Linked DNA regions of Homo sapiens: regions 1, 2, 4, 5 and 6 are each linked to region 3. The links are contacts of gene promoters, found by promoter capture Hi-C in human tissues and cell types (Jung and others, 2019). All regions are on one chromosome and are shown on one strand. The core of a region is centred on a gene start or on the middle of the fragment in contact, and the rest is flanking DNA. Distances in the headings are between cores, read along the strand shown. Region 1 overlaps SYNC (syncoilin, intermediate filament protein). Region 2 has its middle 20 kb from the start of PTP4A2. Region 3 holds the start of BSDC1 (BSD domain containing 1). Region 4 overlaps RBBP4 (RB binding protein 4, chromatin remodeling factor). Region 5 overlaps YARS1 (tyrosyl-tRNA synthetase 1). Region 6 overlaps S100PBP (S100P binding protein).

The links. The method cuts DNA at HindIII sites, captures the fragments that hold promoters and counts their contacts. A contact is called where the count stands out against the background at its distance.
Region 1: a contact is called between a fragment that was not itself captured here and the fragment with the promoter of BSDC1 in region 3, in 4 of the 25 tissues and cell types used here (heart right ventricle, hippocampus, mesendoderm cells and 1 more).
Region 2: a contact is called between a fragment that was not itself captured here and the fragment with the promoter of BSDC1 in region 3, in 1 of the 25 tissues and cell types used here (hippocampus).
Region 4: a contact is called between a fragment that was not itself captured here and the fragment with the promoter of BSDC1 in region 3, in 1 of the 25 tissues and cell types used here (aorta).
Region 5: a fragment that was not itself captured here is called in contact with the fragment with the promoter of BSDC1 in region 3 in 1 of the 25 tissues and cell types used here (H1 embryonic stem cells).
Region 6: a contact is called between a fragment that was not itself captured here and the fragment with the promoter of BSDC1 in region 3, in 1 of the 25 tissues and cell types used here (pancreas).

The regions. Positions count from the first base shown.
Region 1 is chr1:32,688,935-32,692,638 of GRCh38, reverse strand. The region is part of intron 2 of SYNC (syncoilin, intermediate filament protein); the gene reads left to right. Among named protein-coding and RNA genes, the nearest start is that of SYNC, 12 kb to the left of the region's middle. RefSeq lists an enhancer at 3,297-3,704. The HindIII fragment of the contact is 7,163 bases long and covers 1-3,704 here.
Region 2 is chr1:31,955,812-31,960,032 of GRCh38, reverse strand. No RefSeq gene overlaps it. Among named protein-coding and RNA genes, the nearest start is that of PTP4A2, 20 kb to the right of the region's middle. RefSeq lists enhancers at 3,453-4,012, 3,600-4,207, 3,437-4,214, 4,215-4,221. The HindIII fragment of the contact is 3,956 bases long and covers 366-4,221 here.
Region 3 is chr1:32,393,055-32,397,287 of GRCh38, reverse strand. BSDC1 (BSD domain containing 1) reads left to right here and starts at 2,847. Exons shown (of 11, transcript NM_018045.8): 1 at 2,847-2,884; 2 at 3,148-3,208. The coding sequence starts at 2,874. RefSeq lists enhancers at 1,019-1,714, 2,462-2,541, 2,413-3,108, 2,832-3,121, 3,109-3,806. The HindIII fragment of the contact is 8,966 bases long and covers 1-3,394 here.
Region 4 is chr1:32,664,503-32,668,447 of GRCh38, reverse strand. RBBP4 (RB binding protein 4, chromatin remodeling factor) reads right to left here. Exons shown (of 12, transcript NM_005610.3): 4 at 50-223. Among named protein-coding and RNA genes, the nearest start is that of RBBP4, 15 kb to the right of the region's middle. The HindIII fragment of the contact is 8,987 bases long and covers 1-3,945 here.
Region 5 is chr1:32,791,514-32,795,619 of GRCh38, reverse strand. The region is part of intron 5 of YARS1 (tyrosyl-tRNA synthetase 1); the gene reads left to right. Among named protein-coding and RNA genes, the nearest start is that of YARS1, 24 kb to the left of the region's middle. The HindIII fragment of the contact is 7,246 bases long and covers 1-4,106 here.
Region 6 is chr1:32,857,195-32,860,890 of GRCh38, reverse strand. It overlaps S100PBP (S100P binding protein), which reads right to left. Exons shown (of 7, transcript NM_022753.4): 7 at 2,016-3,696. Among named protein-coding and RNA genes, the nearest start is that of FNDC5, 12 kb to the left of the region's middle. The HindIII fragment of the contact is 3,770 bases long and covers 301-3,696 here.

The DNA.
Region 1 (3,704 bases), core at 583-3,082, 300 kb before region 3:
AAGTTGCTGGGATTGCAGACCTGTGCCACCATGCCCAGCTAATTTGGGTATTTTAGTAGAGATGGGGTTTCACCATGTTGGTCAGGCTGGTCTCGAACACCTGACCTCAGGTGATCCACCGGCCTCAGCCTCCCAGTGTTGGGATTACAGGCGTAAGCCACCACACCCAGAAGTAATACTGAATGTTTTTAAACTCTTCATATTCCCCTTACCCTATTTTTTAAAAAATTGGTTCACAGTCTAGTGAAAAGTCATTTATTTAGCATCAATACTATCCTTAACAGCCAATACTCAGACAGACATTACATTAATAGTTGTATCTCAGAGAAGAAAGTAATAGGTGATTTATGAGAGGTGCAGGTAAAAGGGCTGTGGGATAGATGATGATGATGATGATGATTATTATTTTTTGAGACGGAGTCTGTCACTCTTGCCCAGGCTGGAGTGCAGTGGCGCTCAGCTCACTGCAAGCTCTGCCTCCCGGGTTCGCGCCATTGTCCTGCCTCAGCCTCCCGAGTAGCTGGGATTGCAGGCGCCCGCCACCGCACCAGGCTAATTTTTTGCATTTTTAATAGAGACGGGGTTTCACCGTGTTAGCCAGGATGGTCTCCATCTCCTGATCTTGTGATCCGCCCGCCTCGCCTCTCAAAGTGCTGGGATTACAGGCATGAGCCACTGCGCCCGGCCGGGATAGATTATTTTTAGGCGCTGGTTAAATCAGAGAACTCTTCATGAAAAAAGAGGTGGAATTTGAGCTAGGTATGAAAGCATAGGGAGAATCTAGACCAGTGCTGCCCAACAGAAATATAATGCAAGTCACATAAATAATTACAAATTTTCTAATAGCCACATTAAAATAGGCAAAAATTCAGCTGAGCTAAGCCTGAGGGGAGCAGGGGAGAAAAGATATAGGTAAAATTAATTTAAATATATTTTATCTAACTCAACATATCTGAAATATAATTAGTAACTTGGCTGCAGGTGACAAGCTTGAGTTTTGGACTTTATTCAGTAGTCTGCTGCATCATTAAAGGGATTTAATCAGGGAAGTAACATGATTGCCTTGCTACTTTTTTTTTTTTTTCTGAGATGGAGTCTCCCTCTGTCACCCATGCTGGAGTGCAGTGGCACGATCTCGCCTTGCTGCAACCTCCACTTCCCAGGTTCAAGCAATTTTCCTGCCTCAGCCTCCCAAGTAGCTGGGATTACAGGCGCCTAACACCATGGACGTGGCTAATTTTTTTTTAGTCGGAGTCTCTTCTATTGCCTAGGCTGGAGTGCAATAGCGTGATCTCGGCTCATTGCAACCTCTACCTCCCGGGTTCAAGCAGTTCTCCTGCCTCAGCCTCCCGAGTAGCTGGGACTACAGGTGCACAGTGCCACGCCTGGCAAATTTTTTTTGTTGTTTTTTTTTGTTTTTTGAGAAGGAGTCTCGCTCTGTCACCCAGGCTGGAGTGCAGTGGCATGATCTGGGCTCACTGCAACCTCTGCCTCCTGGGTTCAAGCGATTTTCCTGCCTCAGCCTCCCGAGTAGCTGGGACTACAGGTGCATGCCACCATAGCTGGCTAATTTTTTCTATTTTTATTAGAGACAGTGTTTCACTATGTTAGCCAGGATGGTCTTGATCTCCTGACCTCATGATCCACCTGCCTCGGCCTCCCAAAGTACTGGGATTATAGGTGTGAGCCACTGAGCCCGGCCAATTGTTTGTATAGTAGGGACGGGGTTTCACCGTATTGCCCAGGATGGTCTTGAACTCCTGAGCTCAGGCAGTCTGCCTGCCTCGGCCTCCCAAAGTGCTGGGATTACAGGCATGAGTCACCACGCCCGGCCCTAATTTTCGTGTTTTTGGTAGAGATGAAGTTTTACCATGTTAGCCAGCTGGTCTTGAACTCCTGACCTCAGGTGATCTGCCTGGCTCGGCCTCCCAAAGTGCTGGGATTACAGGCTTGAGCCACTGCCTGCCTCTCTACTTTTTTTTTTTTTTTTCTTTGGAGATGGAGTCTTGCTCTGTCACTCAGGCTAGAGTGCAGTGGCATGATCTTGGCTCACCGAAATCTCCGCCTCCCGGGTCAAGTGATTCTCCTGCCTCAGCCTCCCAAGTAGCTGGGATTACAGGTGCCCGCCACCAGGCCTCGCTAATTTTTGTATTTTTAGTAGAGATGGGGCTTCACCATCTTGGCCAGGTTGGTCTCCAACTCCTGACCTCGTGATCCACCCGTCTCGGCCTCCCAATGTGCTGGGATTACAAGAAGTACTGGTGGCAGGATATAAAGTGGGCTAGAGATGCAGAGCAATGGAGAATAATTAGAAAGCTACTCTAAGGAAGAGGTTAAGATGGTTTCAGATTTGACGATTTGTGCATCTTCCCAAGGATTGTTTTCCAAAGATAATCTTATGACACAAAGTTTTAAAAAGAATATTCAGAAGTCTATCTAATCTCTATCAAATGAATCTTTCTCTATTGAGAGGAAGTCTTGGTCTTCCTGCCTCAGCCTCCCGAGTTGCTGAGATTACAGGTGTGAGCCACTTTATCTGGCCTGATACACTCTTGGTAGTATAATAGCTTCTCTTGTTGCTATACCATCATTAAAGTAGGAAGCAAGGTCTGAGGTCCCTAATTTTTCTTTCTGAAATGGCTTCCTAAACTGTTTGCTAAAGTTCTATTTCATCAACTTACTTTTTTTTTTTTTTTTTTGTGACGGTGTCTCACTCTGTTGCTAGGCTGGAGTGCAGTGGCACAATCTTGGCTCACTGCAACCTCTGCCTCCCGGGTTCAAGCGATTCTCCTGCCTCAGCCTCTCAAGTAGCTGGGACTACAGGCTCACGCCACCACGCCCAGCTAATTTTTGTATTTTTAGTAGAGATGGGGTTTCACCACGTTGGCCAGGATGGTTTTGATCTCCTGACCTTGTGATCTGCCCGCCTCGGCTTCCCAAAGTGCTGGGATTACAGGCATGAGCCACCACGCCCGGCCCATCAGCTTACTTCCTAAGGGTGTCCCTTTAATCCTTAGGCTGCACTCCACTCTTAACGTTGCCTCTATCATCACCTTCATCAATTCAACAGTTTCTAAGTGCCTAATTACTGTGGGCCAGGCAGTGAGCTATGTGCTGGCAATAGCAATTAGAAATAGTATGTGTGGCCGGGCGCAGTGGATCACAAGGTCAGGAGTTCAAGACCAGCCTGGCCAAGATGGTGAAACCCTGTCTCTGCTAGAACTACAAAAAAATTAGCCAGGCATGGTGGTAGGCACCTGTAATCCCAGCTACTCAGGAGGCTGAGGCAGAATAGCTTGAACCTGGGCAGCAGAGGTTGCAGTGAGCTGAGATTGTGCCACTGCAATCCAGCCTGGGTGACAGTGACTCACCTCAAAAAAAAAAAAAAAAAAAAAAAAAAAAAGGCCAGGCGAGGTGCCTCACGCCTGTAATCCCAGCACTTTGGGAGGCCGAGGCGGGCGGATCACGTCAAAAGATCGAGACCATCCTGGCCAACATGGTGAAACCCTCATCTCTACTAAAAAATACAAAAATTAGCTGGGCGTGGTGGCATGTGCCTGTGTTCCCAGCTTCTCGGGAGGATGAGGCAGGAGAATTGCTTGAACCCGGGAGGCAGAGGTTGCAGTGAGCCGAGACTGCGCCACTGCACTCCAGCCTGGCAACAGAGCAAGACTCCGTCTCAGAAAAGAAAAAAAAAAGTGTGT
Region 2 (4,221 bases), core at 1,094-3,593, 440 kb after region 3:
GCAGGAATAGGTTTTGTTCTTCTTGCTCTGCAGAGGGCTTCCTCTGCTTCTCCATACACATGGCAGAAAGTGGCTGTCTCCAGCTTTGAGTCCTATGCCTAAACCTGACTCTCTGGCACCAACTGCAAACTGGCAGCCCTATAGGCCAAATATGATGTAAAAAAAATATTCTTAGCCTGTGGCATTTACAAAAATGAATTAGTGCCCCAAATTCAAAAATTGGGAAATCTCACACAAAAATCTGGAAAATCAGAATATCTGACAAGTCTGGGCCCATATTCCCATGGCAACCATCTGCTAGAGCAGAGACGCAGCTGCTACCTTTAGCCGAGGCACACGCTTTCCATTTGCCACAATTGCCGCCATTCCCCATTGTCTCTCACTGGGCTGTTTCACTCATTGTCATTACTATTGTGACCCCTGGGAGTGTTTGAACTAGAGTCACTATGTCCCACTTTCAGAGTCCCAAGAGATATAATTCAGCCCAGTGTGGGTCAGATGGGCACCCCTGGTTCAAAACACTGTGGCAATAGCAGGGCAGGCGTCAGCAAGGTCAGCGAGAGTGTAGGGGGACCTCTTCAGCAAGGCCTATGGGCAACTGTGGGGTCTGGGGAAAGGGAGTCTAGATGGGCAGATACTTGAAAGGAGTTTAGTACCAAGGGGGAAGAGATTGAGGCTGAGAGCCCCCTTATGAGACATGTAATAATAGGCCTGTGTGGTGGCTCACACCTGTTATCCCAGCACTTTGGGAGGCTGAGGTAGGAGAATTGCTGAAGCCCAGGAGATCAAGACCAGCTTGGGCAATGGGGTGAAACCCCATCTCTACAAAAAATACAAAAATTAGCCAGGCATAGGGGCACGTGCCTGTAGTCCCAGCCGGTTGGTTGGCTGAGGTGGGAGAATCTGAGCCTGAGGTGGGAGAATCATCTGAGCCTGGGAAGTCAAGGCTGCAGTGAGCCATGATCGTGCCACTGCACTCCAGCCTGGGCGTTGGGAGTGAGACCCTGTCTCAAGAAAAACAAAAAACAGGCCGGATGCAGTGGCTCACACCTCTAATCCCAGCACTCAAGGAGGTCGAGGTGGGCAGATCACCTGAGGTCGGGAGTTCTAGACTAGCCTGGCCAGCATGGCAAAACCTCGTCTCTACTAAAAATACAAAAATTAGCTGGGTGTGGTGGCGCACATCTGTAATTCCAGCTACTCGGGTGGCTGAGATACAAGAATGGCTTGAACCCAGGAGGCAGAGCTTGCAGTGAGGCGAGATCACACCAGTGCACTCCAGCCTGGGCAACAGAGCAAGACTCTGTCTCAAAAAAAAAAAAAAAAAAAAAAGAACAACCACCACCACCAAAAAATGTATCAATCCAGGCTTCAGGTCATGATGAGGGCCTAAATTGAAGCAGAAACAGTGGAGACAGGCCAGGTTTGGTGGCTCACGCCTGTAATCCCAGCACTTTGGGAAACCGAGGCAGGAGGCTCACTTGAGCCCAGGAGTTCAAGACCAGCCTGGGCAACATGGCGAAAACCCATCTTTATAAAAAACACAAAAATTAGCCAGGAATGGTGGCAAGTACCTGTAGTCCCAGCTACTTGGAAGGCTGGGGTGGGAGGATCACCTGAGCCCAGGAGGCTGAGGCTGCAGTGAGCTGTGATTGTGCCACTGCACTCCAGCCTGAGTGACAGAGCAAGACGAAAGAAAGAAAGAAGGAAGGAAGGAAGGAAGGAAGGAGAAGGGAAGCGAAGGGAAGAAAGAAAGAAAGGAAGGGAAGGGAAGAAAGAAAGAAAGAAAAAAGAAAGAAAGAAAGAAAAGAAAGAAAAAGAGAAACAGTGGAGACAGAGGGGAGAGGGGAGGTTTATTTATAAGATGTTAAGAACATGGTGATTGGTGGGCTGGGCTGGGCAGAAGCAAGAGTGACATTTGAGCTTCTGGCTTGGGGAACAGGGTAAAAGGTGGTGTCATTCATCAAGATTGGGAACCTAGGAGGAGCAGGTTTGGGGGAAGATATAGAGTTCAGTTTTGGCCTCGTTGAGCTTGCTGTATGTGGCAGCGTGCAAGTGGAGCTGCTTGACAGGTGGGTGGCTCTTGGGGGGAAGATCTGTGGTTGAGATACAGTCTGGGAATTCATCAGCAAAGAAGTAGAGGTTGAAGACACAGGCACAGCTTAAAAGTGGGAGGGAGCGTGAGGGGTAGAAAGGGAAGAGGGCTAAGAGCAGAACTATGAGAAGTGACATTTAAGGGCTGGAATGTTGCCAGCAACCAAGGAAGAGAGAAGGAGGAGAAGAACCGGGGTCTGTGGCCTCACAGAAGCTCAGGAAGGAGAGTTAAGAAAGAAAGTGGTCAGGGTGAGGCATGGTGGCTCATGCCTGCAATCCCAGCACTTTGGGAGGCTGAGGTAGGAGGATCACTTGAGGCCAGGAGATTGAGACCAGCCTGGCAACATAGGGAGACCCCGTTTCTATTTAAAAAAATTAAATACAAGCCCGGGCGCGGTGGCTCATGCCTGTAATCCCAGCACTTTGGGAGGCCGAGGTGGGCAGATCATCTGAGGTCAGGACTTTGAGACCAGCCTGACCAACATGGAGAAACCCCGTCTCTACTAAAAATACAAACTTAGCTGGGTGTGGCGGCACATGCCTGTAGTCCCAGCTACTTGGGAGGCTGAGGCAGGAGAATCACTTGAACCCGGGAGGTGGAGGTTGCAGTGAGCAGAGATCGCGCCATTGCACTCCAGCCTGGGCAACAAGAATGAAACAACATCTCAAAAAAAAAAAAATAAACAAATAAGTATGAAAGAAAAGAAGCCAGGCACGGTGGCTCACACCTGTAATCCCAACACTTTGGGAGGCCGAGGTGGGTGGATCACTTGAGGTCAGGAGTTTGAGACCAGCCTGGTCAACATGGTGCAACATCGTCTCTACTAAAAGTACAAAAATTAGCCGGCGTGGTGGTGGGCGCCTGTAATTTTAGCTACCCAGGAGGCTGAGACAGGAGAATTGCTTGAACCCGGGAGGTGGAGGTTGCCGCAAGCTGTGATCTCGCCACTGTACTCCAGCCTGGGCGACAGAGTGAGACTCCCTCTCAAAAAAACAAAACAGGCTGGGCACGGTGGCTCACGCCTATAATCCCAGCACTTTGGGAGGCTGAGGTGGGTGGATCACCTGAGGTCAGGAGTTCGAGACCAGCCTGTCCAGCATGGTGAAACCCTGTCTCTACTAAAAATACAAAAATTAGCCGGGTGTGGTGGCACATGCGCCTGTAATCCCAGCTACTCAGGAGGCTGAGGCAGGAGAATCACTTGAACCTGGGAGGCGGATGTTGCAGTGAGCCGAGATCACGCCAGTACACTCCAGCCTGGACAACAAGAGTGAAACTCCGTCTCAGAAAAAAAAAAAAAGAAAGAAAGAAAGTGGTCGACAGCGCTGACTGTTTAGAAGAGGCAAGTAGGAAAGGCCTGGAAAAAGTCTTTGGATTTGGTGATGAAAAGATCATCACTGAGTGTGATGACAGACAGTTCAGTGGCTGGGCAGAAGTCAAATGACAGGGACTGAGAAATGAGTGGACAGTGAGAATGGGAGTCAGGGTTTCGACTCTCCTGAGGCCTGGGATACGGAGGGAAGGAGAGAGTTTGTCCAAAGGCAAAAAGTTTGTGTCAAACAAGATTCCAGAGAAAGGCCTGGCTGCTGTTGAGAGACCCAGGAGTAGCTAAGGCCTTATTCTGGGTTCAGGAGGGCCTGGGAAGATGCTGTCTTGTTTGTGAACCTGAAGTGAAAGCTCACCAGAGGGGCCAGCAGAGGGAACTGCCCTGCGAGAAGGCCCCAGCTTTGCGGCTGGGTTTTCCCCACTCTGCATCTAGTTTCCTTGATCCACTGATTATCTTGGGCTGGTTTTGCTGAATGACTCAGGAGCTTGAGCAAGCTTTGCTACTCAGTTTCACAGCTCTGGGGGAGGGGAAGTTGGATTCCTTTCTGATAGCTGGGAAACAGTCATTAGATATTGAAGGAAGAAGGACAATTGGGCCCCAGCTTCAGAGAGAGAGAGAAAAAAATGGCTCTCCAAGCCTTTATTTATTTATTTATTTATTTATTTATTTATGAGATGGAGTTTCGCTCTTGTTGCCCAGGCTGGAGTACAATGGCGCAATCTCGGCTCACGGCAATCGCTGCCTCCTGGGTTCAAGCGATTCTCCTGCCTCAGCCTCCTAAATAGCTGGGATTACAGGC
Region 3 (4,233 bases), core at 1,598-4,097:
ATGAACCTGATGTTCAGAGAAAATGTATGGGTTGGAGAGGAAATTTGAGAGCCATCAGCATATACATGGCATTTAAAAGTATGAGATTAGTGAGATGGCTCACACCTGTAATCTCAGCACTTTGGGAAGCCAAGGTGGGTGGATCACTAGAGGCCAGGAGTTTGAGACCAGCCTGGGCAACATAGTGAAGCACTGCTAAAGAAAAATTAAAAGTAAGGCAACACAGGGAGACCTCATCTCTATTTAAAAAAATAATAATAGCTGGGCTTGATGGTGCATGCCTGTAGTCCCAGCTACTCAGGAGACTGAGGCAGGAGGATTGCTTGAGTTCAGGAAGTCAAGGCTGCAGTGAGCCATGATCGTGCCACTGCACTCCAGCCTGGGCAACTGATATGGTTTGGCTCTGTGTTCCCACCCAAATCTCATCTTGTAGCTCCATAATTCCCACGTGTTGTAGAAGGGACCTGGTGAGAGATGACTGAATCATGGTGGGGGCGGGTTTTTCCCGTGCTTTTCTCATAATAGTGAATGGTTCTCATGAGATCTGATGGTTTTAAAATCGGGAGTTTCCCTGCACAAGCTCTCTTCTCTTGTCTGCCACCATGTGAGATGTGCCTTTCACCTTCCTCCATCATTGTGAGGTCTCCCTGGCCATGTGGAACTGTGAGTCCAGTAAAACTCTTTCTTTTGTAAATTGCCCAGTCTCAGGTATGTCTTTATTAGCAGTGTGAAAATGGACTAATATGGCGACAGAGTAAGATCCTGTCTTAAAAATAAAATAAAATGGGCCAGGAGCAGTGGCTCACGCCTGTACTCCCAGCACTTTCAGAGGCCGAGGTGGGTGGATCACCTGAGGCCAGGAGTTCAAGACCAGCCCGGCCAACATGGTGAAACCCCATCTCTACTAAAAATACAAAATTAGCTGGGTGTGGTGGTGGGTGCCTGTAATCCCAGCTATTCTGGACGCTGAGGCAGGAGAGTCATTTGAACCCAGGAGGCAGAGGTTGCAGTGAGCCAAGATCATGCCACTGCACTCCAGCCTGGGCAATAGAGTGAGACTCCATCTTAAAAAATAATAATAAATAAAATCATGAGACTTTATGAGAATATCTGGGGAATGACTATAAACATCAAAAAGGAGGAGGACACCAAGGGCTGAGCCTTCTCCCAGGGAATATCCCATTCCAGCAACAAGAAGGCGGTGAGAAAACAGCAAAGAATACTGAGATGCCAATGAACGGGGAAGAAAGTCAAGAGGGCATGATGTCCTGGAAGCCAAATGAAGAAAGTGGTCAACTGTGTCAAATAAGATGCGGATGTAAAACAAGAACTGAAAAGTGGCCATTCCTCTTGGCGACCTTAAGAAAGTTATGTCAGGCTGGGTGCAGTGGTTCATGCCTGTAATCCCAGCACTTTGGGAGGCTGAGGAGGGCAGATCACCTGAAGTCAGGAGTTCGAGACAAGCCTGGCCAACATAGTGAAACCCCATCTCTACTAAACATACAAAAATTAGTCGGGCATGGTGGTGCACAACTGTAATCCCAGATACTCGGGAGGCTGAGGCAGGAGAATCGCTTGAACCCGGGAGGCAGAGGTTGCAGCGAGCTGAGATTGCACCACTACACTCCAGCCCGGGCAACAGAGCAAGACTCTGACTCAAAATAAATAAATAAATAAAATAGATGTTTCCGTCTTCCACAGGGAGGACCAAAAATAAATAAATAAATAAAATAGATGTGTCCGTCTTCCACAGGGAGGACGTGGGATGGTGGCGGAGCTGGCTGCAGCAGAGCTACAAATAAATATAAAATAAATAAAATTAAATAAAATTAAATAAATAAAAGAAAGTTATTTCAAAGGATTGTCTGAGAGGCAAAAACCTAACTGCAGTGAGTTCAAGAGAGAATGGGAGGAGAGGGGAGTTGCAGACTGTGAGTAGGCAACGCTTTTGCTGTAAAGGGGAGTAGGGAAACGGTGAGGGATATAGAGAGGGCTGGTTTTTGTTTGCCTTTGAGATGGGAGAAACAGCAGTACGGATGATGACAAGGATAAATGCAGTCATCAGAGGGAAAAGAGATGAAGGGGGGATTACTAGATCTATGTCCTTAAGCAAACAAGAGGCGATGGGATCTACCGCACACGTGGAGGGGCTGACCTTAATTAAAGTCCAAAGTATGTGGGCTGTGGAATCTCCCTTCCAATCGCAGTAGAACTCAATCCAGGCGGTCTCCGGATTTCTCCAGACCACCTCCACCTGGCGTTGTTCTGAGCTGGGCCACCGAAAGTTGAGATTACTGAATGTGTGTGTCTCCCATTAACCCGTAAGCCCTCCAAAGGCTGCATCTAAGTCGCCTCTGAATTATTCACATTCCTCCAAACTCTGGGCCACAGCCCCGCAATATGGGCTTATTGAATTAGCCCAAAGAGACACAAAGCAGCCTCTACGCAGCTGGTTTCACAAAGGGGGGCGGTCCTAACCCTGCGCTCTGGGATCCTGACGTTCGAGCTATCTCTCCTCCTCCCCTCTGCTCCCAGCTCTCCGCAGTCCAGCTTGTCGGCTGATCATCGTCCATAGAGGCCACCGTACCCGACGTTTGCGGACAGTGACAAAGAGTCAAGCTTGGTGGAGCCTGAGGACAGGACTGAATGACGATTGAACTGAGAGTTCAGGGGCGGAGTTTGAGGGCGAACTCGGGACAGAGACTGGATAGAGTTCAGGGAGGCGGGACCTAATGATGGCGCAGGGAGGGGATTGGGCTGAGGGCGGTGCCGGCGCGAGGATTGGGCCGAGCGCCTCGGGGGCGGTCCTTGAGGGGGCGGTGCCGTGTCGGAAGTCAAAGGTCAGTAAATAGTGGTGATGTCATGCAGGCAAGATGGCGGAAGGGTGAGCTTGTCGTTTTGCTCCTAGGCGTTGGGGCCTGAATTCTCCCAGGGTTGGGGTGCTGGGCGAGAGTCCCGGTGGGGAACGTGAGATCAGCGGGGGCGTGGACTGATCTGAAAGGGCAGAGTGGAGTCGCATTGTGAGGGGGTGGGCAAGCGGTCTGCGAAGCCTCGGCCCGCAGGGTACATCTGAGCGGGGAACAAACCGGATCCTTGGGCGGGCAGGAATCGCACCGCGGTGCTGCCAGATGTGTCTGTCTTCCACAGGGAGGACGTGGGATGGTGGCGGAGCTGGCTGCAGCAGAGCTACCAAGCAGTCAAAGAGAAGGTAAGCCGGGCCCGTGCCCTTCTTCCCTCAGCAGGGCCCTGCGCCGCCTCAATGCAACCTGGTCCAACCAGCCCCGCCCAACTTTTGCGGGCGCTAAGTCTCAAGGATGAGGCTGACCTGGGCCTTTCTTTTAGCCTCTACCGGTCCACGGGAAGACAGACCTCGACGCAAACCAGTGTGATACTAGCCACAGTGAAATAAAGATGGTTTTAAAGGCTGGAGTTAACGAACGTTTTGTAGGAATCCATAGGAAGGAGCAATTTATTCCAGCTCAGGAAATTCAGTTTCTTCGTGAAAGAGAGAGCATTTGATACAGGTCTTGAAGGAAAAGATTCTAGCAGTAAAAAAACTTACTCGTATAGTCATTCAAATATTAGAGTATATGCGACAACCAGCACTCTGATAGGTCTTGAGGATACAGACTTCAGCCAAACAGATGTAATCCTGGGCCTTACAAAGCTCACAGTCTAGTGGAGAGACAGCCATTAACCGAGTAGCCAAACAAATAGTTGTTTAGTTACCGTTGTGGTAAGTTCTGTGAAAGGAAAGTACAGGGGCACCTTGTCTGTTCTGGTTAGTCAGTAACTCACCAGGGAAGGCCCCTGTGGAGAAGGAACCTCATCAAGGGCAACCCTGCCTAGACAGGATGAAAAGCAAGAACCCAAGCCAGAGATGAGCATGAGCCATACACACTGGTGCCTGATGAGTTCTAAGTAGGGGCTATGCAACGGGCAGTAGAGAGAGAGAGATTAATCACCAGAGAGTGGAAGGCCTTCTTGCTGAACAATCTCTGTGGGATGAGTGATATTTGGCTGTGCCAGTGGGTAATTTGCCAATGTGTATTCCTGTTTCATTTCATGCTTATTTGTCAAAATCAGCCCAACTGAATTGTGGGAAAAGTTGATTACTATTTACCTCAAGCAATTGGGATGAGTCCTGCTTCAGGGCCAACTCCAGGAAGCTTCTGACCTCACCTAAATAAGTCCTCTACTCTGGGAGTATTTTTGTTTTGTTTTGAGACAGAG
Region 4 (3,945 bases), core at 475-2,974, 270 kb before region 3:
TGTATTTCTATAGTGACTCATTTGTATTTGAATAGAAAAGGGCACATACCTGGTTTAGAAGGATGTTTTGTATAGTCAAAAACAAGAACATCACTGGAAGGAGTCTTTGTTGCGATGATACAAGGGTTCTGGGGCATATAACGGGCCCTGTTTACTTCTCCTTCATGGTTGATCTTGATTTCTATTTCAATTTTTCCACTAACTGAACCAAAACCTCCAAATTCTGTGAATAAATTAATTGCAAATGAGGACAAAACAAGAGCTACTCTAGAGGTTACCCAGAGTATAAGAACACAGGAAAGGATTTTTTTTCCTTAGCAACAAACTGGCATAATACTAGATGTAATCTATACATTTGCTAGCACTATAAAGTGCTTTCCTACCCCCGTGACTCCAGGTAGTTAAATAACTAATAAGAAATACAGTCAGCTCTCCATATCAGTGGGTTCTTTATCCATGAATTCAACTAGCCATTAATTGAAAATATTCAGAAAAACATTGCATATGTATTGAACATGTACAGATTTCCCCCTCATCATTATCCCCGAACAATATAGTCTATTTATATAACATTTACATTATATTAGGTATTATAGGTAATCTAGAGACATTTTAAAGTATATGAGAAGATCTGCATAGGTTATGTGTAAACATTATGCCATGCTGTATCAGAGACTTCAGCATCTGTGAATTTTGGTATCCAAAGGAGGTCTTGGAAACAATTCCCCACGGATTCTGAGGGATGGCTGTATTATATTACTATCTGAAATTAAGGAAAACTAGAATTCTACTGATGTAGGGTCCAGCCCTACGGGGCTTAGCGGGTGTTCTCCCCGTGTGCGGAGATGAGAGATCATAAGAAATAAAGACACAAGACAAAAGAGATAAAGAGAAAACACCTGAGCCTGGGGGACCACTACCACCAAGACGCAGAGACCGGCAGTGGCCCCAAATGGCTGGGTGCGCTGATATTTATTGCATACAAGACAAGGGGGCGAGGTAAGGAGGATGAGTCGTCCAAGTGATTGATAAGGTCAAGCAAGTCACATGATCATGGGACAGGGGCCCTTCCCTTTCAGGCAGCTGAAGCAGAGAGGTAAGGCAGCATACGTCAGCGTTTTCTTCTATGCACTTATCAGAAGGATCAAAGACTTTAAGACTTTCACTATTTTTTCTACTGCTATCCTCTAGCAACTTCAAAGAGGAATCAGGAGTACGGGAGGAACATGAAAGTGGACAAGGAGCATGACCACTGAAGCACAGCACCACAAGGAGGGGTTTAGGCCTCCGGATGACTGTGGGCAGGCCTGGATAATATCCAATCTCCCACAAGAAGCTGGTTGGTGGAGCAGAGTGTTCCCTGACTCCAAGGGAAGGGAGGCTCCCTTTCACAGTCTGCTAAGTAATGGGTACCTTCCCAGGCAATGGTGTTACCGCTTGCCAAGGAGCCCTCAAGTGGCCCTTATGCGGGCGTGACAGAGGGCTCACCTCTTGCCTTCTAGGTCACTTCTCACAATGTCCCTTCAGCACCTCATCCTATACCTGCCGGTTATTCCTTGGTTATATTAGTAATACAACAAAGAGTAATATTAAAAGTTGATGATTAATAATGTTTATACTAATGATTGATAATGTCCATGATCATCTCTATATCTACTTTGTATTTTAACTATTCTTATTCTAACTATTTTCTTTATTATACTGAAACAGTTTGTGCCTTCAGTCTCTTGCCTCGGCACCTGGGTAATCCTTCGCCCACATACTTCAAAAACAGATCTTAATAAAGTTTTCAGCCAGGCGCAGTGGCTCACGCCTGTAATCCCAGCACTTTGGGAGGCTGAAGCGGGCAGATCACCTGAGGTCAGGAGTTCGAGACCAGCCTGACCGATATGGTAAAACCCCGTCTCTACTAAAAATACAAAAATTAGCTGGGCGTCGTGGCAGGCGCCTGTAGTCCCCAGCTACTGGGGAGGCTGAGACAGAATTGCTTGAACCTGGGAGGCGGAGGTTGCAGTGAGCCGAGATCGTGCCACTGCACTCCAGCCTGGGTCACAGAGCAAGACTCCGTCTCAAAAAAAAAAAAAATAAAGTTTTCAAATTTCAAAGTGTAAATAAGTATGCTGAATAAATAAAACCAATGCTACTACTATAATGAATATTAAGTACACAGTGTGCTAAACACTAAAGTGCCCTTCTTGCATTGCTTGTATGAAGCTCTAGCTTGGGATGAATGTTCTGAAATACCATCATGCCGTTTATCTTCTCCTTACAGTGTTTCTTTTATTTCAGTGAGGAAAAACAGAGCCACAGCAGCCAGTTCCATTTTGCTACACCCACTTACACATGCCAACAAAAGTCCCTGGTTGAAATAAACCAGGTAGGCAACAACTAGATGAAAACATTTTTTATTCACACATGACTACTATGTGCACTTAGAGAGTTCTCTCAAGTACCATTATAGTATATATAACAATATAATGTGTGATTATGTAAATCTTGGCAAAGCAATATATAAATAAAGGTAGTTAATGATCAAAGAATAATAGAAGGCAGCATGGTACGGTTGCAAAAGTTCCAAAGTAAGAGTCAGACCCAGGCCCCTAAGTGGCTCTGTCACTTACTTAGTTTGGTGATTCAGGGAAGGCCTTCAGTTTCTCTGAGCATCAAATACCTTATCCACAAAGCAAAGAAGTTGTGAGAGTAACTTAAAAATAAATAAAAATATTCTGTCAATTGCATTGCTATATAGTGCTTTTTTTTTTTTTTTTTAAAGACAGGGTCTTGCTCTGTCACCCAGACTGGAGTGTAATGGCACGATCTCGGCTCACTGCAACCTCTGCCTCCTGGGTTCAAGCGATTCTCCTGCCTCAGCCCCCTGAGTAGCTGGGACTGCAGCCATGTGCCATGACGCCCAGCTAATTTTTGCATTTTTAGTAGAGACGGGGTTTCATCATGTTGGCCAGACTGGTCTTGAACTCCTGACATCAGATAATCTACCCGCTTCAGCCTCCCAAAGTGCTGGGATTACAGGAGAGAGCCACTGGGCCGGGCCTAGTGTTATTCTTTGAAGGACAAACATCTTTTCAGAAAGCAAAGATATACATGGGTGGTATGGCTGGCGTATTAGATAACTTTCAACTTCAAAATAACTTTTGAAAAGCAAAATGTTTCACACAGGCTAAAAACCTAAAAATAAAAATTCAAGATAGATTCTAAAGGAGAAAAAATCCCTAATTTTTTCCATAACTCCAGCCCACAAGCATCTACAATCTATGAAAAAACAAGGCATATATGGTACGTACCTCAAGAAACTTCAGTCTAAGTACAGGCATAGCTCGTTTTATTGTGCGTCACACATAAGTTTTTTTCCCCAATTGAAGGTTACAGCAACCCTGCACTAAGTCTATTAGTGGCATTTTCCCAACATGTGTTCAGTTGGTGCCTCTGTGTCTGCATTATTATTATTATTTTTTTTAGCAATGAAGTATTTTCAAATTAAGGTATGTACATTGTTTTTTAGACATAATGCTATTGCACGTTTAGGAGACTATAGTATAGTGTAAACATACAAAAAATTTGTGTGGTTTGCTTTATATATTTGCTTTACTGCAGTGATTGGGAACTGAACCCCCATCATATCTCTGAGATATGCACATATACAACTGCAAAGGCCAATGACCACCACCCCCAAAAAAGTGGCTGGGCACGGTGGCTCACACCTGTAATCCCAGCACTTTGGGAGGCCGAGACGGGTGGATCACAAGGTCAGGAGTTTGAGATCAGCATGGCCAATATGGTGAAACCTCATCTCTACTAAAAATACAAAAATTAGCTGGGCATGGTGGCACGTGCCTGTAGTCCCAGCTGCTCAGGAGACTGAGGCAAGAGAATTGCTTGAACCCGGGAGGCAGAGGTTGCACTGAACCAAGATTGCACGACTACACT
Region 5 (4,106 bases), core at 1,130-3,629, 400 kb before region 3:
TGGCCAGGAATGGTCTTGATCTCTTGACCTCATGATCTGCCCGCCTTGGCCTCCCATAGTGCTAGGATTACAGACGTGAGCCACTGCACCCAGCCCCTAAAATCTTTATTAACTGGCCCTTTCTAAAACAGTTTGCCCATCCCTGCCCTAGAGATTACAACACATATCCTTGCAATTTATTACAGTTTAAGTTAGATATTTTTACCACTGCCCAACAATGCAAGAAACAGTTTTACTACATTTTTCCTCCAACAACAGTTGGAGTAAAACTCATTTTTTGTTTGTTTGTTTTTTGTTTTTTGAGATGGAGTCTTGCTCTGTCGCCCAGGCTGGAGTGCAATAGCGCCATCTCGGCTCACTGCAACCTCCACCTCCCGGGTTCACGCCATTCTCCTGCCTCAGCTTCCCAAGTAGCTGGGACTACAGGCGCCCGCCACCACACCCTGCTAATTTTTTGTATTTTTAATAGAGACGGGGTTTCACCGTGTTAGCCAAGGTGGTCTCGGTCTCCTGACCTCATGATCCTCCGACCTTGGCCTCCCAGAGTGCTGAGATTACAAGCGTGAGCCACCGCGCCTGGCAAAACTCATCTTTTTTTTTTTTTTTTTTTTTTTTTTGAGACAGAGTCTTGCTCTGTCACCAGGCTGGAGTGCAGTGGCGTGATCTTGGCTCACTGCAACCTCCGCCTCCCGGGTTCAAGCCATTCTCCTGCCTCAGCCTTCCGAGTAGCTGGGATTACAGGCTCCCAACCATGTCCAGCTAATTTTTGTATTTTTAGTAGAGATGGGGTTTCACCATGTTGGCCAGGTTGGTCTCCATCTCCTGACCTCGTAACCCACCTGCCTCGGCCTCCCAAAGTGCTGGGATTACAGGCATGAGTCACCGCACCCAGCCTCAAAACTCATTTTTGACATAAATTTTAAATCCCTTGGCTGGGCGCAATGGGTCACTCCTGTAATCCCAGCACTTTGGGAGGCCAAGACAGGCAGATCACCTGAGGTCAGAAGCTTGAGACCAGCCTGGCCAACATGATGAAACCCCGTCTCTAGTAAAAATACAAAAATTAGCCAGACGCAGTGGTGTGCACCTATAATCCCAGCTATTCAAGAGGCTGACACAGGAGAATTGTTTGAGCCTGGGAGGCAGAGATTGCAGTAAACTGAGATCGCACCATTGCACTCCAGGCTGGGCAACAGAGAGAGACCTTGTCTCAAAAATAAAATAAAATAAATCTTAAAGACTTTACTACCATTTTTTTTTTAATTTTTCTGAGACTGAGTCTCCCTCTATCACCCAGGCTGAAGGGCAGCGGCATGATCTCGGCTCACTGCAACATCCGTCTCCCTGGTTCAAGGGATTCTCGTGCCCCAGCCTACTGAGTAGCTGGGATTACAGGTGCCCGCCACCACGCCCGGCTAATTTTTGTATTTTTAGTAGAGATGGGGTTTCACCATGTTGGCCAGGCTGGTCTTGAACTCCTGACCTCAAGCTGTCCACCCACCTTGGCCTCCCAAAGTTCTGGGATTACAGGCGTAAGCCACTGCGCCCAGCCTGTAATTGTTTTTTAAGTCACTTTTCATCTATATCTACCCCTACTTCCCCTTTCTGATACTCTTGATTCTTGTCTGCAGTTCTTTGCTTCTGTGTGAGTTCATTTTCCTTCAACCTAAAGAGCCCCCACTTAGTATGTGTTTGTAGTGCAGTTCTTTCAGTAATGAGTTCTTTCAGCTTTCTTTTATCTGAAAACATCTTTCAATTTCTTTCACTGGGTATGAAATTGGAAGTTTGCAATTATTTTTCTTTTGGCACTTTTAAAGGATCATTGCATTGCCTTCTGGCTTCCATAGTTTCGACTGAAAAGTCACCTCTAAGTTTATTGTTTCTCCTTTACAGATAATATGTCTTTTCTCTGCTTTTAAGATTTTTTCTTGTTTCTGATTTTCAGCAATTTTACTATGATGTTTTTGTTGTTGTTTTCTTTGAGACAGGGTCTTGCTTGCATTGCCCAGGCTGGAGTGATTGATCTTGGCTCACTGCAGCCTTGACTTCCTGGGCTCAGATGATCCTCCCACCTCAGCCTCCCAAGTAGCTGGGACTATGGGCATGTGCCACCACACCTGGCTAATTTTTGTATTTTTTTTTGGAGATGGAATTTCACCATGTTGGCCAAGCTAGTCTCAAACTCCTGAGCTCAAACGCTTTGCCTGCCTTGGCCTCCCAAATTGCTAGGATTACAGGTGTGAACTGCTGTGCCTGACCAGCTATGATGTTTTCAGCTATAGTTTTCTTTGTATTTATCCTGCTTAGATTTTGCTGAGCTTCTTGAATCAGTGGATTTGTTTTCATCAAATTTGGGAAATTGTCTGCCATAATTTCCTCAAATACTGCTTCTCTCTTATTCTCTTTCTCCTCTAGGGACTTTATAAAACTCATGTCTCATATTCTGTTCTGCTGTTTTCCTTTCTTTGTTCCCTCTGTGCTTTACTTTGGATATGTTCTATTGAACTTTCTTCAAGTTTATCAATCGTGTCTTCTGTTAAATCCAGTATTGTATTGTGACATTTTAGAACTTCCATTTGATTCTTTTTATAGATTCCAATTGTCTTTTACAATTCTCTTTCATCCATTTTGTCTGCCTTTTCTTATTTCCTTTTTGGTTTGTTTTTCCTGCCTATTCTGCCTATGTACTCTTATTTTCTTTTATTTATTTATTTATTTATTTTTATTTTTATTTTTTTTTGAGATGGAGTCTCGCTTTGTCACCCAGGCTAGAGTGCAGTGGCGCAATCTCAGCTCACTGCAAGCTCCGCCTCCTGGGTTCATGCCATTCTCCTGCCTCAGCCTCCCGAGTAACTGGGACTACAGGCACCCACCACCACGCCCAGCTAATTTTTTATATTTTTAGTAGAGACGGGGTTTCACCGTGTTAGCCAGGATGGTCTCGATCTCCTGACGCCTGCCTCGGCCTCCCAAAGTGCTGGGATTACAGGCATGAGCCACCATGCCCTGCTTATTTTCTTTAACCTACCAATCACAGTTATTTTGGCATCATGGTCTATTTATTGCAATATCTGGATTGTTTCTGAATCTGCTTCTATTGGCTATTTTAACTGTCAGCCACTTTTCTCTGCTTCCCATTTCTAGTATTTTTTTGTATGTGTGTATCAAAGGGATTATAGATGCATTGTAGACCCTCCGGATTGTGTTTGTAGGATGCTATGTTTTCTGTAGATTGCTAAATTACTGACTTATCACCTGGGTTCTGTCAGGGGTTGGTTTTAGGCTTTGTTAGAACGTCTACTTCAGCTTAGCCTTTACTCCTGTGGTGTGGTCCTTGTTCCTAGAGCATGGCCTTTCTAGAGACTCAAACTGAAATATCATGGTGTTCACAAAGCCTTCTCTACTTTGATTGGAGCTAAACTTCCATCTCTGTCTCCCCAATACTGTGCAGCCTCCAAAATCTCTGCCCAGGTCTCCAGCCTCCCAGAACCTGTTCTCTGCCAGACTTCCTGGTATCTCACTATGTGCATACACAGCTATGAGTCAGCCAAGAAATCAGTGGGGAATTTTGACATAGGCTGAGGAACCCATCCCAATCCCTAGCCTCCTCCAGCCCTGAACTCCAATAGCTGTTTCCTCTGCTTAGTCTTTCGCTGTCTGCTTGGTCTCTTTTTATCAGCACCTGGTTTGCAAAGAAATACCCTCAGTGAGAAAGCCCAAGGCAAGTGTGGTCACCTTACTTCCCTTCGCTCAAGATTTGCTGCCCTGTTGGGTTTTGTTTTGTTTTTTGTTTGTTTTGTTTTTGTTTTTGTTTTTTGAGATGGAGTCTCGCTCTTGTCGCCCAGGCTGGAGTGCAATGGCACGATCTTGGCTCACTGCAACCTCCGCCTCCCGGGTTCAAGTGATCCTACTGCCTCAGCCTCCCGAGTAGCTGGGATTACAGGTGCCTGCCACCACGCTTGGCTAATTTTTGTATTCTTAGTAGAGATGGGGTTTCACCATGTTGGCCAGGCTCATCTTGAACTCCTAACCTTAGGTGATCCACCCACCTCAGCCTCCCAAAGTGCTGGGATTACAGGTGTGAGCCACCATGCCCGGCTTGCCCT
Region 6 (3,696 bases), core at 936-3,435, 460 kb before region 3:
TCTTGTCCCCTAGTTTTTCAGAATGGGCCTTCTCAAGAATGCATTTTTAAGAGTTTTGGTTCAACCCTTTACAAAAATGTGCAAAATCTCACCAACCCATTAACATGAGCTTTAGATTTCTGACTCTCTTTAAACCTATTTGATGGTTACTGGAATGTGCATTTAAGTAGCCTCCAAGAACAAATTGCTTCTATAAATGGGACACCCTGCTCACCCTCCTCCCTTGCCCAGCTCCATCAAGCTCCATCCATACAAAATATTACCAAACCTTCAAATGTGACTTGAAGTTAAGTTGAAGGAAAACTGTACACAAATAGTTCCTAACCAGGTGCAGTGGCTCACGCCTATAACCCCAACACTTTGGGAGGCCAAGGTGGGGCAGATCACTTGAGGCCAGGAGTTCAAGACCAGCCTGGCCAACATGGTGAAACCCTGTCTCTACTAAAAATACAAAAATTAACTAGGTGTGTTGGCGCACACCTGTAATCCCAGCTACTCAGGAGGCTGAGACATGAAAATCACTTGAACCCAGGAGGTAGAGGTTGCAGTGAGCCAAGATCGCGCCATTGCACTCCAGCCTGGGCAAGAGAGTGAGACGCTGTCTCAAAACAAATAGTTCCTTAGTGATATATTTCAGGACTATCACTTAGACTGCTTTAAAGGTTATCCAAAATATTATATTCCACCCCCTTTCAATGGGTGCTGGGAAGGGCCAGATTTTCCGTCTATGGCATGTCCCAGTTGTCACAGGGGGAGGACAGGTGGGGAGGAAGGACAAGGCAGGAGCCTATTCATTTAGGAATTCCACCACTGACCAGCTGATACTTCCTGTGACAAGTGGAATTTTTTTTTTTTTTTCCCTGACAGGTGCTCTGGCATACAAAGCAAGCATACACTAAAATCAGCTTAGGAATAATTGTTTTCTCTTAGAAAAGCAGAACATTACTAAGAGAAGCAGGGAACTCCACTTTCTAGCTTTAGGTGGTTGGGTTTTTTCTTCCTATAAAAGCTCAAAATAGGCTAATTAGAGAATGACCCCCTTCCTCTTGGAGAAGGTCCATCTCTCCTTTTCCTCTTCACTTTTCCGTAATGTAAAATGGACAAAAGATCCTATCTACACCTGATAGGAACAAAACAGATATGCATAGGTTAAGGAGAGTGCCTCAGATTGAGACAAGAATGTCAAGTTGCTGAGTACTTAGCAAACTTATATTGAGTCTTTTGCATGGACTCAATATTATATTTTGTCTAGAATTTATAGACAAAACTTATAGCACAGCAGGCCAGATAGCATGGCTAAACATGTTGCTACTTGTTTTCTCAGCATGAACTCAGATTTTTAAAGCACTGGCTAATATAGGTGACAAGTTATTATTGCCTTCCCTTTTTTCCTTGCTTCTGGGGGTAAGTCTAAGAAGCTTTGGTTCACGAAAGGGATCTAAGGAACACTGTGTCTCCCACATCTACCCACGCTTATCCAACCTTCACCCAGTTTTTAGAAGCCGCAGTTTCTGGAGAAACTGGGTTATGAACAACCATCAATTCTGTACCACTGATTCTGGTTTCTTACATCCCCTTCAAAGAGAGAATGCTCTTGGATAGCATGGCTTCTTCCACAATCAATGCTAGCTCTGGAGAAGCAGAGATAGGGAGGCCAATCACACAGCCATGGGAAGGAATAAAAGGCAATGCCTGCCTGATCACGGCTGAGCCATCTTCCCCCTCTGCAAAAACTGAGGCATAATGATATTTCAGGCTCTCCCTATGTCAGGCTCCTGACATGCACCATATGTAGCTGCAAATCCCAATCAATTTCAACATTTCTTAACTGCTAGAACACCTTTCTCAACACTGTAATTTACCTTCAAAAGAATAGGGAGCAAGCACCCTCGCCTTTCCAGTACCACATTCTACTAACTGCCGCCCCCCTCCCCACCCCACTAACCTACCTACGCAAAGGAAGAAGGCAAATAACCCTCCATCGAAGCCTACGACAGACCGCCACAGTACATATGTCACTGACAAAGAACTTTTATTTCTTTTTAATGACATTAAACACAACTGCTACAAGGGAAAAAACATGATAAAGAGGAGGCACCAAACTTCAGTTTCATAATTGAAACTGACAACGCCAGTAAATCAGGGCCTGCATTCGAAACTACAGGTTATTTCAGGCTCCTTACTTGTAAGTAAACAATGTAAACAGCATATTTTTACTCTGCTTTGTCAAGACCCCCATGGTGGGAATGTCGTCATGGATGAAGAAAGCAGTTAAATGCACCTAACACTTGCTTAAAAAATAATACAGCAAGAATTCCAACTGCAATATTAGACTTAGAGGCCAATACCAAATATAAGAGATATGCAGCTTTGAAAAGAGATGAAAACTCCAGATTCTACCCAGTACCATCTTTAAGGCGAACATGCCAGATAATGAGTTTTCTTTGGCTTTGTTTTTTCTTCTTAAAGAATACCATGTTAACCACTAGAGAACAGCTCTCTCCTCCCCCAGTCCAACAGATTTAATTAAGCTGCTAAAGCTTTGGAAAAACAGAATTATTTGAGCTAAGAGGAAATGTGATTGTCACATTTTCTAGTTAACCTGTCACTCATTTGATTTGGCAAAGGCAGTGCTCCTATTACACATTCAGTCTTAAAACCCCATGTACCAGGAGGGCACGAGTCTTAGATTTTTGCCTAGGCAAAATCCTGTCCCTTCACTCCTTGGGTTTTCTGTAGGGAACTAGACTACAGTTCCCTACTGTAGCTGCAATGCTAGCTATTCCAACTACATTTAATTTTAACTATGCTATGGTCCCAAAGGTGGATGTTTGGCATGTCTCACTCCATCAACCTAATTTAGGGCAGCCTGGAGAAGTGACCGATGTAGTAAATGCCAAGTAGGCTAACTAAAATAATAGATTTCAACTACTGCCTTTGAATAGAACTTCTCCTTTGCATTTTGGCCCCAGAATTTAAAACAAATGTTCAAGGAAAAGCAAATCCTTGACTGGATAAAAACAGTAAACACTTAGGGACATTCACCTAAATTTATTGTTGGCTTAAATGACCAAGCGTTCCCCACGTCCGTTTCTAAAGTGGGGTAGGATGTTTAGAATGCATTACTCACACAGAAAGATGGGATTGATGAAATCACAAAACTAAACACAGGCTATAGCAACTATGAACAGCCTTCACAGAGAATGAACAATAGCACAAATGCCAGACTGCAACACTTCCTAAAATGATGTCTATAGCTATCTGTAAAGAGAGAATAACCGGCCAGGTGCAGTGGCTCATGCCTGTAATCCCAGCACTTTAGGAGGCCGAGGTGGGCAGATCACCTGAGGTCAGGAGTTCAAGACCAGCCTGACCAACATGGAGAAATCCTGTCTCTACTAAAAAATATGAAATTAGCCAGGCATGGTGGCGCATGCCTGTAATCACAGCTACTCAGGAGGCTAAGACAGGAGAATCCCTTGAACCCAGGAGGCGGAGGTTGTGGTGAGTGGAGATACGCCATTGCACTCCAGCCTGGGCAACAACAGCGAAACTCCGTCTCAAAAAAAAAAGAGAGAATAACCAACTCCTAAGACATCCATTAAGACAGACGCACAGTCTGTCAACTTTGGTTAGAATACCAAACCTTAAGATCAGGTAATGCTTTTGTGCATAGGCTGTCACAACTATATTACA